Linked DNA regions of Homo sapiens: region 2 is linked to region 1. The links are contacts of gene promoters, found by promoter capture Hi-C in human tissues and cell types (Jung and others, 2019). All regions are on one chromosome and are shown on one strand. Each heading gives the region's core, a stretch centred on a gene start or on the middle of the fragment in contact. The rest is flanking DNA. Distances are from core to core; before and after follow the strand shown. Region 1 holds the start of TADA3 (transcriptional adaptor 3). Region 2 overlaps CIDEC (cell death inducing DFFA like effector c).

Region 1 (5,207 bases), core at 1,372-3,871:
ACTGAGGTTGCAGTGAGCCGAGATCACGCCACTGTGCTCCAGCCTGGGTGACAGAGCGAGACTGTGTCTTAAAAAAAAAGAAAAAGAAAAACCACTTCCAACGAACTGTGGTCCAGCCATTCAATTAACTACTACTTGGTAATAAAAAAAGAGTAACTATTGATACACACAACATGGTTGACTCTCAAATGTATTATGGTAAGAAGCCACACTTAAAAGCCTGCATACTAAAGAATTCCATTTACATGACAATCTGAAAAAGGCAAAACTACAGGGGGGAAAAATCAGTAGTTGTCTGGGGTGGGAAGGAGAGGACTGATTACAAAAGGGCTTGAGGGAACTTTTTGGGGTGACGGAAATGTTCTGTATTTTGGTTGCAGTAGTGGTTACACAACTTGACTTTTTTTTTTTAAGACACGGGATCTTGCTATATTGTCCAGGCTGAAGTGCAGTGGCTATTCACAGGAGTGATCACAGTGTACTACGGCCTCGAACTTCTGGGCTCAAGTGATCCTCCTGCCTCAGTGTCCTGAGCGGATGGTACTACAGGCGCATGCCACCATACCCAGCAAGTTTTTGCAACGCTTTTTTTTTTGAGACGGAGTCTTACTCTGTTGCCCAGTCTGGTGTGCAGTGGCACGATCTCGACTCACTGCAAGCTCTGCTTTCTGGGTTCACGCCATTCTCCTGCCTCAGCCTCCTGAGTAGCTGGGACTACAGGTGCCCACCACCACGCCCGGCTAATTTTTTGCATTTTTAGTAGAGAAGAGGTTTCACCGTGTTAGCCAGGATGGTCTCGATCTCCTGACGTCGTGATCCGCCCGCCTCTGCCTCCCAAAGTGCTGGGATTACAAGCGTGAGCCACCACGCCTGGCCTTTGTCAACAGTTATAGAAAGTAAACCTAAAAAGGGTGACTGGCTCCGTGACGCCTGTCCTTTCATGAATAAAACAGATGTAGTCTCATGTAATACCTCAATAAACTTGAACTTTTAAAAATCAAGAGGCATGTGCCCCACTAGAAAAAAAAAATACAGATTTTTAGCAGAGACATGAGGTCACAAAAGTTTGCCAGGATAGGGAACCCAGGAGGAAGAACAAATTTAGAATAGAATATGAGTTTTGAACTAGAGGTCTAATTTCAAGGTCTCTTCAAGATATCCAGGCAAACCTTGAAAGAGAGCTGAGAAGCCAGATTAGGAGTCATCAGAATGAAGAAAGTTATCGAAGCCAGGAGACTAGATCGGTATCACCAGGGAAGGTGTGACGAAGAGGGAGATGGTCATCCAAAGTCACAACTCCCAGGAATGCCCACACGTATGAAAAAGGCCCACATGTATGAAAAAGGCCCACATGTATGAAAAAGGGAGGACTTCCAGGAAGGGAGGGATGAGCAGTATCACAGCTAACATACACTAAGGCTGACACAGTTCAGTTCTGACCAGGAAGGGCCTGAATGGAAGCAACACGAGAGATCCTCCAATGGGGTGGAAGCAGGGCTGGAGGTACCAAGAATGGGATAAGGAAGTGTGGCCGCCTGCCTTAAGCAACTGTAGGGTCAGGAAGGCAGAAGAGGACAAAGGGCGTATGTCGTGAAGTTCCACTGTGGATAGGCAGGTGGACTTGCTTCATGCCTCAGAGGCTAAGAGGCCGACTACGTACCCTCGAAATGCTCCAAAGAGCCTAGGAGACCCCACTTCCGGGTTCCTACAGGGCTCAGGAAAAGCCCCTACCTGCTTCGAAGGCTGACCGTGAAGCCACAAGGCCCACTTCATACCAGGGAGTACCCCCACTCGCCCCTTCCTCACCTCGGGCCCCCGCCCCGTCTCTTTTTCCCACCCTCATCGTGTCCCCACAACCCCCGGACATCCCTCGGCCCCGCGCCCCTGCGGCAAAGCCACATCTCCCACCGACCCACTGCCCTGAGGCCGAACAGCCGGGGGTCCCTGGCCGGGGGCCCGGCTCTCTCACCATCGCGGGCGCTGGCTGGGCCGGAAAGCGGAAGTACGGAAGTGGCCAGCCCCGCGATGCCTGCCCTTTCGCGAGAAGCGCAGCTACGGTCTCCGCCCGGACTTCCGGACGGTACCATCTATGCTCCGAGCGGGGTAGAGAGCCCTTACGAACGCTTGGGCCTTCCGGAAGTTTTCCACCTAGGGCTGTCTCGGTATTTTTAAATTCTTGCACTCGAGTCACTATTTAAGCTCCTCCAGGAATGGGTGCAGCTTCCCTTTGTGCCTTCGGCCTTCTTGTCACCTTTGCCACAGCCTCCCCCAGGTATGCAATGGTACAGCCCAGCTTCAGATTGGGCACCAAATTAGGACAAGCCGAAGCGGACGAGCCCTTCGTTTCTTCCGGTTCTGTACCCCCATCCTTTCTCTCGCCCCTCCTACCCGCAGCTCCTGGCGCTCGGCGGGGCTAACTGCAGCGCGGAGATCTCGGCCGCCAAGCTCCGCCTCCCGCCCCGGGCTGTGCCCCGGGGCTCGCCTGAGGCCGACCACCCGCACCCCACCTCTAGCGGCTTTGCTCGAGGCCCACCTTCTTCCCACCCCCGGCAAACTCCAGTAGGCTCGCCCTCGCTGACTCCCCGCCCCCGCGTCAACTGCAAGGGGCCCGCCCATAGCCAGTTCCGGGGCGGTTGCTCACATCGACCGGAACTCCCCGCCCCCTCCCGCGGCCCCTGGGGCCGTAGGAGGCCGCAGCGAGGAGGTAGAGGGGGCGGGGGTCGCACTAGGGTGTCCCTAGAGAACGAGGACTCTGAAGGCGGGACATTTGGGCGACCCCCGGGCGGGGCCAGCCATTAAACAGTCCCACTTCTGTGCCAGACACTGAACTGGGCTCTTGACGGGCATCATCTCTTAATCCTCAGAACATCCCAGGGAGGTAGGTACTATTGTTATCCCCATTTTTCAGATTCAGACTTTTAATGGGGAAACAGACCGAGACTTCTTTTGTCCCCATTTTACAGATGGAAAAACTGAGACTGAAAAAGGTCAAATAACATGTTCAGGGGCATATAAGTAGAGAATGGTAAAGCCTGGGCTTGAACCCAGGTCTGTCTGGCTTACCAGCCCACGTTCTAAACCACTGTTAGTGACTAGAGAAGGGAGAAAGGTGGAATAGGGTAAGAAAAGAGGCCAAGAGTCCCAGAGAACATGGTAAGAATGGGGTGCTTGGAACTCAAAGTCTTAGCAGAACCCAAGAGAAATAGAAGGGAAGGAAAGAGCATCAGAAAGGCGAGGCAAGGCATAGCAGTATAGCATGGTGATCAGGGTGCAGACTCAAGACTAGCGGGGTTCAAATTGCATCTTGGAAGCATAGGCACATACCCACCCTTACAGAGTCTCAGTTTCTTTCTCTGTAAAAACGAGATCACAATGGTCCTTGTTCATGGTGCTGAGTGAGAAATTCAGTGAGATAAACTGATAAAGTGCTCTGCACCTAGCTTGGTACCCAGTTAAGTGCCCTGTGAGTAGGAACTGTGCCATCAATTTTGTCAGTAAGGGACTGAAGCTGGGCTTCCTTGAGGCTGTCCCTGGAGGTAAGAAGCCCTTGGGCTTTTCTCAGACCACTTTGTCTCCCATCAATGGCCCTGTCCTCTCCAGCTCCACAGGATCCCCATATCCTGGGCCATGAGTGAGTTGAAAGACTGCCCCTTGCAGTTCCACGACTTCAAGTCTGTGGATCACCTGAAGGTCTGTCCCCGCTACACGGCAGTGCTGGCACGCTCTGAGGATGATGGCATCGGCATCGAGGAGCTGGACACCCTGCAGCTGGAGCTGGAGACCCTGCTGTCTTCTGCCAGCCGGCGCCTGCGTGTGCTTGAGGCCGAAACCCAGGTGATAACCCCAGAGAGGGGCCAGCACCAGAGATGGACTGCAACAAGTTATGGGATGGGTCATTGAGTTAGCCCCATATGCTGAGACTTGGGGTACAGGGGTTTGTGGGGAGAGGGAGAGAGACGCAAACTGGGTTTGCATGACACAAAAAATACACAAGAATATGCATGATCCTCTTAAATTGCAAGATTTCTAATTCAGTAAGCTTTTATTGGCACCCCACTCATCCCCCATTGTGTTCTGGGTCCTATGCTAGTCATTAGAGAAAGGTAATTAGGACAGTTATGGCTGTCAGGGAGCTTGGCAACTAGGAAAGTGAGAAAGTCAAGTACATACCAGGTGATGTGATGTTGTGGTTAGCAGTCCTAGGGAACTGGAATGGGGAAACCTGGATTTGAATCCTGGCATAAGCGCTTGCTAGCATTGCTGTTTCCTAGCTATGTGACTTTGAGAAAGTTGCCTCATATCTCTGAGTGTCAGTTTCCCTATCTGCAAAGTGGGGTGAATAATAGGACCTACCTTAGTGCTTTTGTGAGGATTAAAAGAGAATTTTTTGCAAAAACTCAGCCCAATGCCAGACACTAAGTAAGTACTTCAGATGTTATTTATTTGCTACTCTGATGACTTTATTCACTGCATAAAGATGCCTTGAGCCTTGTGTGCCAGGCGCTATGCTGTATTCTGCAAAATAGAGATGGTTAAGGTGGGCTTTCTGGTCCTCAGTAGCTTATGGTCTAGTTGAAGAGACAAGGTGTGATGGTCATTCCAGTGTGACCAAACAACACGATTGGGTGCACGTTGGAGCTGTGAAGTGCCAGAGACTTGTGGAGGAAGGAGGTGCCAACTGGACCTAAAAGGATGAATGGAATTAACTTGTCCCTGGGAATCCATGGACCCTCCTTGAGGAAGGCTATGACTCAAGTTGTATTTTAGCATCTAAGAACCTGGGTAACTGATTGAGAGAAGGCATCTCAGTAGTGGTGACATCGAAGTGAAGGTTTGCTGAGAGGACTCTTCTGTTAAACAGTATGTGACTGGCATGGGTGATACAGAAGTGAATCAGTATAGATGAACAAGTGAATGAGATTATGAGAAGTATATGAATAAAGTTCTAGGAGGCCAGGCACAGAAAATGAGCTGAATTTTGAAGGATGAGTAAGAGTTTACTAGGTAAAAAGAGGATGGGGAAAGACCCAGGAGCCTCTGTAGATTCTAGATCCTAATTTATTCACTAGAGGAAAGAGATATTCTGTGTTTTCCCTTCTCCCCCTCAGTGACACTTTCTGTAAATTTCAGATCCTCACCGACTGGCAGGATAAGAAAGGTGACAGACGATTCCTGAAGCTGGGTCGAGACCATGAACTTGGAGCTCC
Region 2 (5,207 bases), core at 1,245-3,744, 73 kb before region 1:
TGCAGCATCTGTTCCTATTTGCACATCGCTCTAGAATTGATGAAATGCTTTTAGTGCTACCACCTCAGTGGTATTCAAATGTTATTAATGAAGAAAACAAACATAATGAAACCAATCCCTTCCAGGCCAGCATGGGAATAAGGGGGTGCAGGGAGGGGGTACACTCTTGTTTTTATTTATTATGTATTTATTTATTTTTGAGACAGAGACTCACTCTGTCACCCAGGCTGGAGTGCAGTGGCACAATCTCAGCTCACTACAACCTCTGTCTCCCAGGTTCAAGTGATTTTCGTGCCTCAGCTTCCCGAGTAGCTGAGATTACAGGTGTCTGCCACCACGCCCGGCTAATTTTTTGTATTTTTTAGTAGAGACGGGGTTTCGCCATGTTGGCCAGGCTGGTCTCAAACTCCTGACCTCAAATGATCCACCCACCTCGGCCACCTAAAGTTATAGGATTACAGGCATGAGCCACCAAGCCCAGCCTTGTGTTTTTTGTTTGATTGTTTTTTGAGACTGAATCTTGCTCTGTCACCCAGGCTGGAGTGCAGTGGTGCCACCTCGGCTCACTGTGACCTCCGCCTCCTGGGTTCAAGCGATTCTCCTGCCTCAGGCTCTGGAGTAACTGGGATTACAGTCACCCACCACTATGCCTGCCTAGTTTTTGTATTTTTAGTAGAGACAGAGATTCGCCATGTTGGCCATGCTAGTCTCAAACTCCTGACCTCAGGTTACCCGCCCTCCATGGCCTCCCAAAGTGCTAGGATTACAGGCGTGAACGCCATGCCCGACCTACTTCGTGGTTTTGACTTGCGTGCCCTCTCATTCCACCCAGGGAAGCTTTCCGCTGGGCCCTCTTCAGCATGCAGGCCACAGGCCACGTACTGCTTGGCACCTCCTGTTACCTGCAGCAGCTCCTCGATGCTACGGAGGAAGGGCAGCCCCCCAAGGGCAAGGCCTCATCCCTTATCCCGACCTGTCTGAAGATACTGCAGTGAAAGCCCAAGTCCTTGGAAGCTTTCCCCAGTGAAGGACTGACTGGGGGCCTCACGCTTAACTGGTAGTGCCCACAAGCCTGGCAGCTGTAGAGCCGCGAACCTCCCCACACCTCCCTCACCGCGCAGGACCCTGAGTGAGGAGGAGGAGCTGGAAACCTGGGGTGGGTTGGCCAAAGGAGAACCTCAAGCTCCTGGCCTGATCCAGCTCCTTCCTGCCCAAGGCAGCTTAGCCCATCCAGACTGGTCCTGAAGTCTGTCCCTCCATTGGCATGAAGTCTGCCCCTTAGCAATCTGGCCTCGCAGGCTGTACTTTCATGGTGCTCTCTACCTTCTGGCCCCCATCCCGGAACATTCCTGAGTGAATTCGCAAGCGCACTAGCATGTGATATTAGGGAGTTTGCAATAAATTATTGAGGCTGATGTATCTTCTTTGCCTGTGTTCTTTGGGGTGGGGTTTTATCTGGAAGGTTGGAGGGGGCTAAAGGAAGAGACGAATCTATTGTCAAAGTATTCTCTTTAATGTAGGATTACAGCTAATGGCACTTTTTCTACCAAAGAAGAAAAAAAAAAACAGCTGGGCACAGTGACACGTGCCTGCAGTCCCAGATACTCAGCAAGCTGGGGTGGAAGCATCCCTTGAGACCAGGAGTTCAAGGCCAGGCTGGAGCACAATAGCAAGACCCCAGGCTCCTTAAAAAACAAAATTGCAGTTGATTTTGAAACTAAAGTCAGCTGAATTTGAGGCTTGAGCTGACCATGTAATTGATACCATAAGTAACAATTTCCTAATTAAATTCACCTATCAGAGGAGCTTCAATTGAGCAGGTGGGATTAAGTCACTCTTCTAATTTCTCAGTGTCCCATTTTATAATAACCGTTTAAGTGGTTAGGTGAAAAAGTACTACTCAAGCTGTAAGGCATTTCTCCATCAATGCCCATCCTAACTTGCCAGACAGCTTATCTTTCATGTTCAGGACTTTCAACCTCGGGATTTCAAAGTGGGCTCATAGGTAGCCCCAAAGAGTAGGAGCTTCTCATCAGTGTGAGCTGGCATTTTCCAGTATTGGACAACTCAAGACAAGCATGAAAGGCTGAACTTAGGCTGGGCATGGTGGCTCACGCCGTAATCCCAGCACTTTGGGAGGCCGAGCCAGGCAGATTACCTGAGGTCAGGAGTTCAAGACCAGCCTGACCAACATGGTGAAACCCGGTTTCTATTAAAAACAAAAAAATTAGCTGGCCAGCATGGCAGGCGCCTGTACTCCCAGCTGTTTGGGAGGCTGAGGCAGTAGAATCGCTTGAACCTGGGAGGCAGAGGTTGTGGTAAGCCAAGATCGTGCCACTGCACTACAGCCTGGGTGACAGAGCGAGACTCCATCTCAAAAAAAAAAAAAAAAGGCTGAACTTGTAGAACTTGTAGGTGACTGTTTTATTTAGTCTGTGACTGAAAGATTTAAAAACTTGGCCAGGTGCAGTGGCTCATGCCGGATATCCCGGCACTTTGGGAGGCTGAGGCAGGAGTATCGCTTGAGGCCAGGAGTTCAAGAGCAGCCTGGGCAACATAGCCAGACCCTGTCTCTACACTAGATAATAAAAAAAAATTAGCAGAGCATGGTGGCTGTAGTCCCAGCTACTCAGGAGCCTGAGGCAGGAGGTTCACTGGAGCCCAGTAGGTCGCGGCTGCAGTGAGCTATGATTGTGCCACTGCACTCCAGCCTGGGCAACAGAGTGAGAGCCTGTCTCTGGGAAAAAAAAAAAAGAGGATTCAAAAACTCTATCACAGCCAGCCGCAGTGGCTCACGCCTGTAATCCCAGCGCTTTGGGAGGCCAAGGCGGGTGGATCACAAGGTCAGGCATTTGAGAGCAGCCTGGCCAACATGGCCAAATCCCGTCTCTACTAAAAGTACAAAATATTGGCCGGGCATGGTGGTGGGCACCTGTAATCTCAGCTACTCGGGGGGCTGAGGCAGGAGAATTGCTTGAACCTGGGAGGTGCAGGTTGCAGTGAGCCGAGATTGTGCCATTGCACTCTAGCCTGGACGACAGAGTGAGACTCCGTCTCAAAAAAGAAACAAACAAACAAAAAACGAAAAACAAAACAAAACCTATTGTTTCACTACTCTTACTATAAAGCCTATTTGGATGTAGTAAATACTAAGGCAAAGGCCTATATTACCAAAGATGGTCTGGGAGCTATTTATGGCAGCGGACCCAAACCCTGCAGCCTATGGGCAAAGCGGCTGAAGCTCGCTGAAGAGGGCCTGCTATTCCGGGCTCTCCTGCTCTTTTGCAGTTATGGCTGGAGGCTGGCCCGGTGCCAGGCTGGCTCCATGGGGTGGGCTGTCTGGCAGGGAGGCCTGATGTTTGTATTAGCACAGAAGCTATCCCAGTCCACCCTTGATGAAGCTGTGGCGGGGCCTACCTGCTCCTTCCGTAAAGTGCTCAGTAACAGAGTTGGAGTGGGGGTGGGAGGCTCGGTATTTGTCCCAAGCTTCCCTCCTCCTGAGATCCGGAGTTTCACAAGTGAATCTTGAGCAACTGCCCATGGTCTCTTGGCATTGAGCCCAGGGAAAACAAGGTTCTTTCTTTTCTTCCAGGAGCTCGAGGCTAATGGAGTCAAAGCAGCTGTGGTCAGTGAACAGAAAAGGCAGCCTCTGATGAGGCTTGGGGGCTGGGGAGGGAAGATTCCAAACAGCAAAGGAGTTTGAGCCTCTGTAGGGCCTGGCGGTCCTAGTGGGGGAACGGCCTTTCCTGGGGCCCCCCGCACAGCCAGGAGCAGCTGTCGTCAAGGTGGACTGTGTCCCAGCCCCTCCAGCTCAGCCTTTTCATCTGTTCAAGCTGGTGCTCGGGAGTGCACAGGATGCCTTTCAGAAGAATTCTAAATCCCGGGGGCCTGTGATGCCACAGTCACATGTCTGAGCCCAAAACAAGAGAACCACTTGTGTTTTTGCCACTCTTCTTACCAGCGATGCCCATATTTGTGCATATAATTTTTTTTTTTTTGAGACGCAGTCTCACTCTGTCGCCTGGGCTGGAGTGCAGTAGTGTGATCTCGGCTCACTGCAAGCTCCGCCTCCCGGGTTCATGCCATTCTCCTGCCTCAGCCTCCCAAGTAGCTGGGACTACAGGCACCCGCCACCACGCCCAGCTAATTTTTTGTATTTTTAGTAGAGACGGGGTTTCACCGTGTTAGCCAGGATGGTGTCGATCTCCTGACCTCGTGATCCGCCGGCCTCGGCCTCCCAAAGTGCTGGGATTACAGGCGCAAGCCACCGCGCCCGACCCATATATGTATTTTTTGTGGGGTGGGGGAAATACTGATTCTGAGATGTGTGCTGCCTGGAATCCCATGGCCACCGTGACCAGGGTTGTAGGGGGCCCAGGGGCCCAGGGTCTTTGATGTCAGCCGCATCTCCTGGCCAGCATTGACCCAGGGGTCCCACGTCAGCTGGTTTAGTGGGGGCCGCTCCCTGGGGTCGAGGCTGAGGAATTGTTTTACTAGTGTTTCCAGTGGAAACGAAGAAATAGGTGGAGAGTCATACTGTCACATAGCCTGAGGCGGGAAGGGACCACGGGTGGGGCTGGATGTTCTTTCAGCCTCCCTGGCAGAGATCACTGACAGAGTGGTCAGCTTGGCCAAGCTTCTGCGGTGGATGGCTCTGATGTAGGGGAGGGAGGCAATCCCCAGAGCAGGAATGGGTTCCCAGGGGCCCCTATCCTTGCAGGGGAGGCGCTGGCCATCCTCCCCTCAGAGCCTTCTTCACTGCAGCCCGTAGGGGGGCGAGTGACCTGGAGGATCCGTGCCCCAGGGGCAAACCTCTGGGCTCTGGCTTCAGCCCCACCCGGGAAAACATTCACAGCTCCTCCGGAGAAGCGCCCTGCTGCAGGAAGACTCTAGGGCAGGGCCCAGCTGCGAGGCTACTGGCCTGTTGGTGACAGTACCCCAGGCTTCAAACTCTCTGGGCCTGTTGGCAATTCCCTTCCCTGGGTACAACAGATTCCCACCCGGCCCGCCCTTCTGCTCGCCCCACGGGGAAGTGGCCCAGGAGTGGAGGCGTGGACAGGCATCCCGATGGCTCAGAGTCGGGGTCAGCCTGGACAGCACGGCCTCTGGGGGTCAGACGGGGAGCGAGGGGAAGGTGCCAGGCTCCAGGACAGCCCTTGACAGGCGGTCTGACGGCCTCGGGTCTCCTCTTTTCTGGCCTCGGGGAC

Evidence for each region. The method cuts DNA at HindIII sites, captures the fragments that hold promoters and counts their contacts. A contact is called where the count stands out against the background at its distance.
Region 2: a fragment that was not itself captured here is called in contact with the fragment with the promoter of TADA3 in region 1 in 4 of the 25 tissues and cell types used here (adrenal gland, aorta, mesenchymal stem cells and 1 more).

The regions. Positions count from the first base shown.
Region 1 is chr3:9,789,887-9,795,093 of GRCh38, reverse strand. TADA3 (transcriptional adaptor 3) reads left to right here and starts at 2,621. Exons shown (of 9, transcript NM_006354.5): 1 at 2,621-2,878; 2 at 3,601-3,834; 3 at 5,131-5,207. The coding sequence starts at 3,628. ARPC4-TTLL3 (ARPC4-TTLL3 readthrough) reads right to left here and starts at 2,546. Exons shown (of 12, transcript NM_001198793.1): 1 at 1,970-2,546. The coding sequence starts at 1,972. It overlaps ARPC4 (actin related protein 2/3 complex subunit 4), which reads right to left and starts at 2,012. Exons shown (of 6, transcript NM_005718.5): 1 at 1,970-2,012. The coding sequence starts at 1,972. It also overlaps a transcript of OGG1 not described here. RefSeq lists enhancers at 1,347-1,436, 1,636-2,162, 2,137-2,236, 2,163-2,689, 3,794-4,294 and silencers at 2,367-2,656, 2,717-2,806. The HindIII fragment of the contact is 18,412 bases long and covers 1-5,207 here.
Region 2 is chr3:9,862,922-9,868,128 of GRCh38, reverse strand. It overlaps CIDEC (cell death inducing DFFA like effector c), which reads left to right. Exons shown (of 7, transcript NM_001321142.2): 7 at 833-1,415. The coding sequence ends at 995. Among named protein-coding and RNA genes, the nearest start is that of CIDEC, 15 kb to the left of the region's middle. RefSeq lists silencers at 3,750-4,044, 5,150-5,207. The HindIII fragment of the contact is 3,135 bases long and covers 927-4,061 here.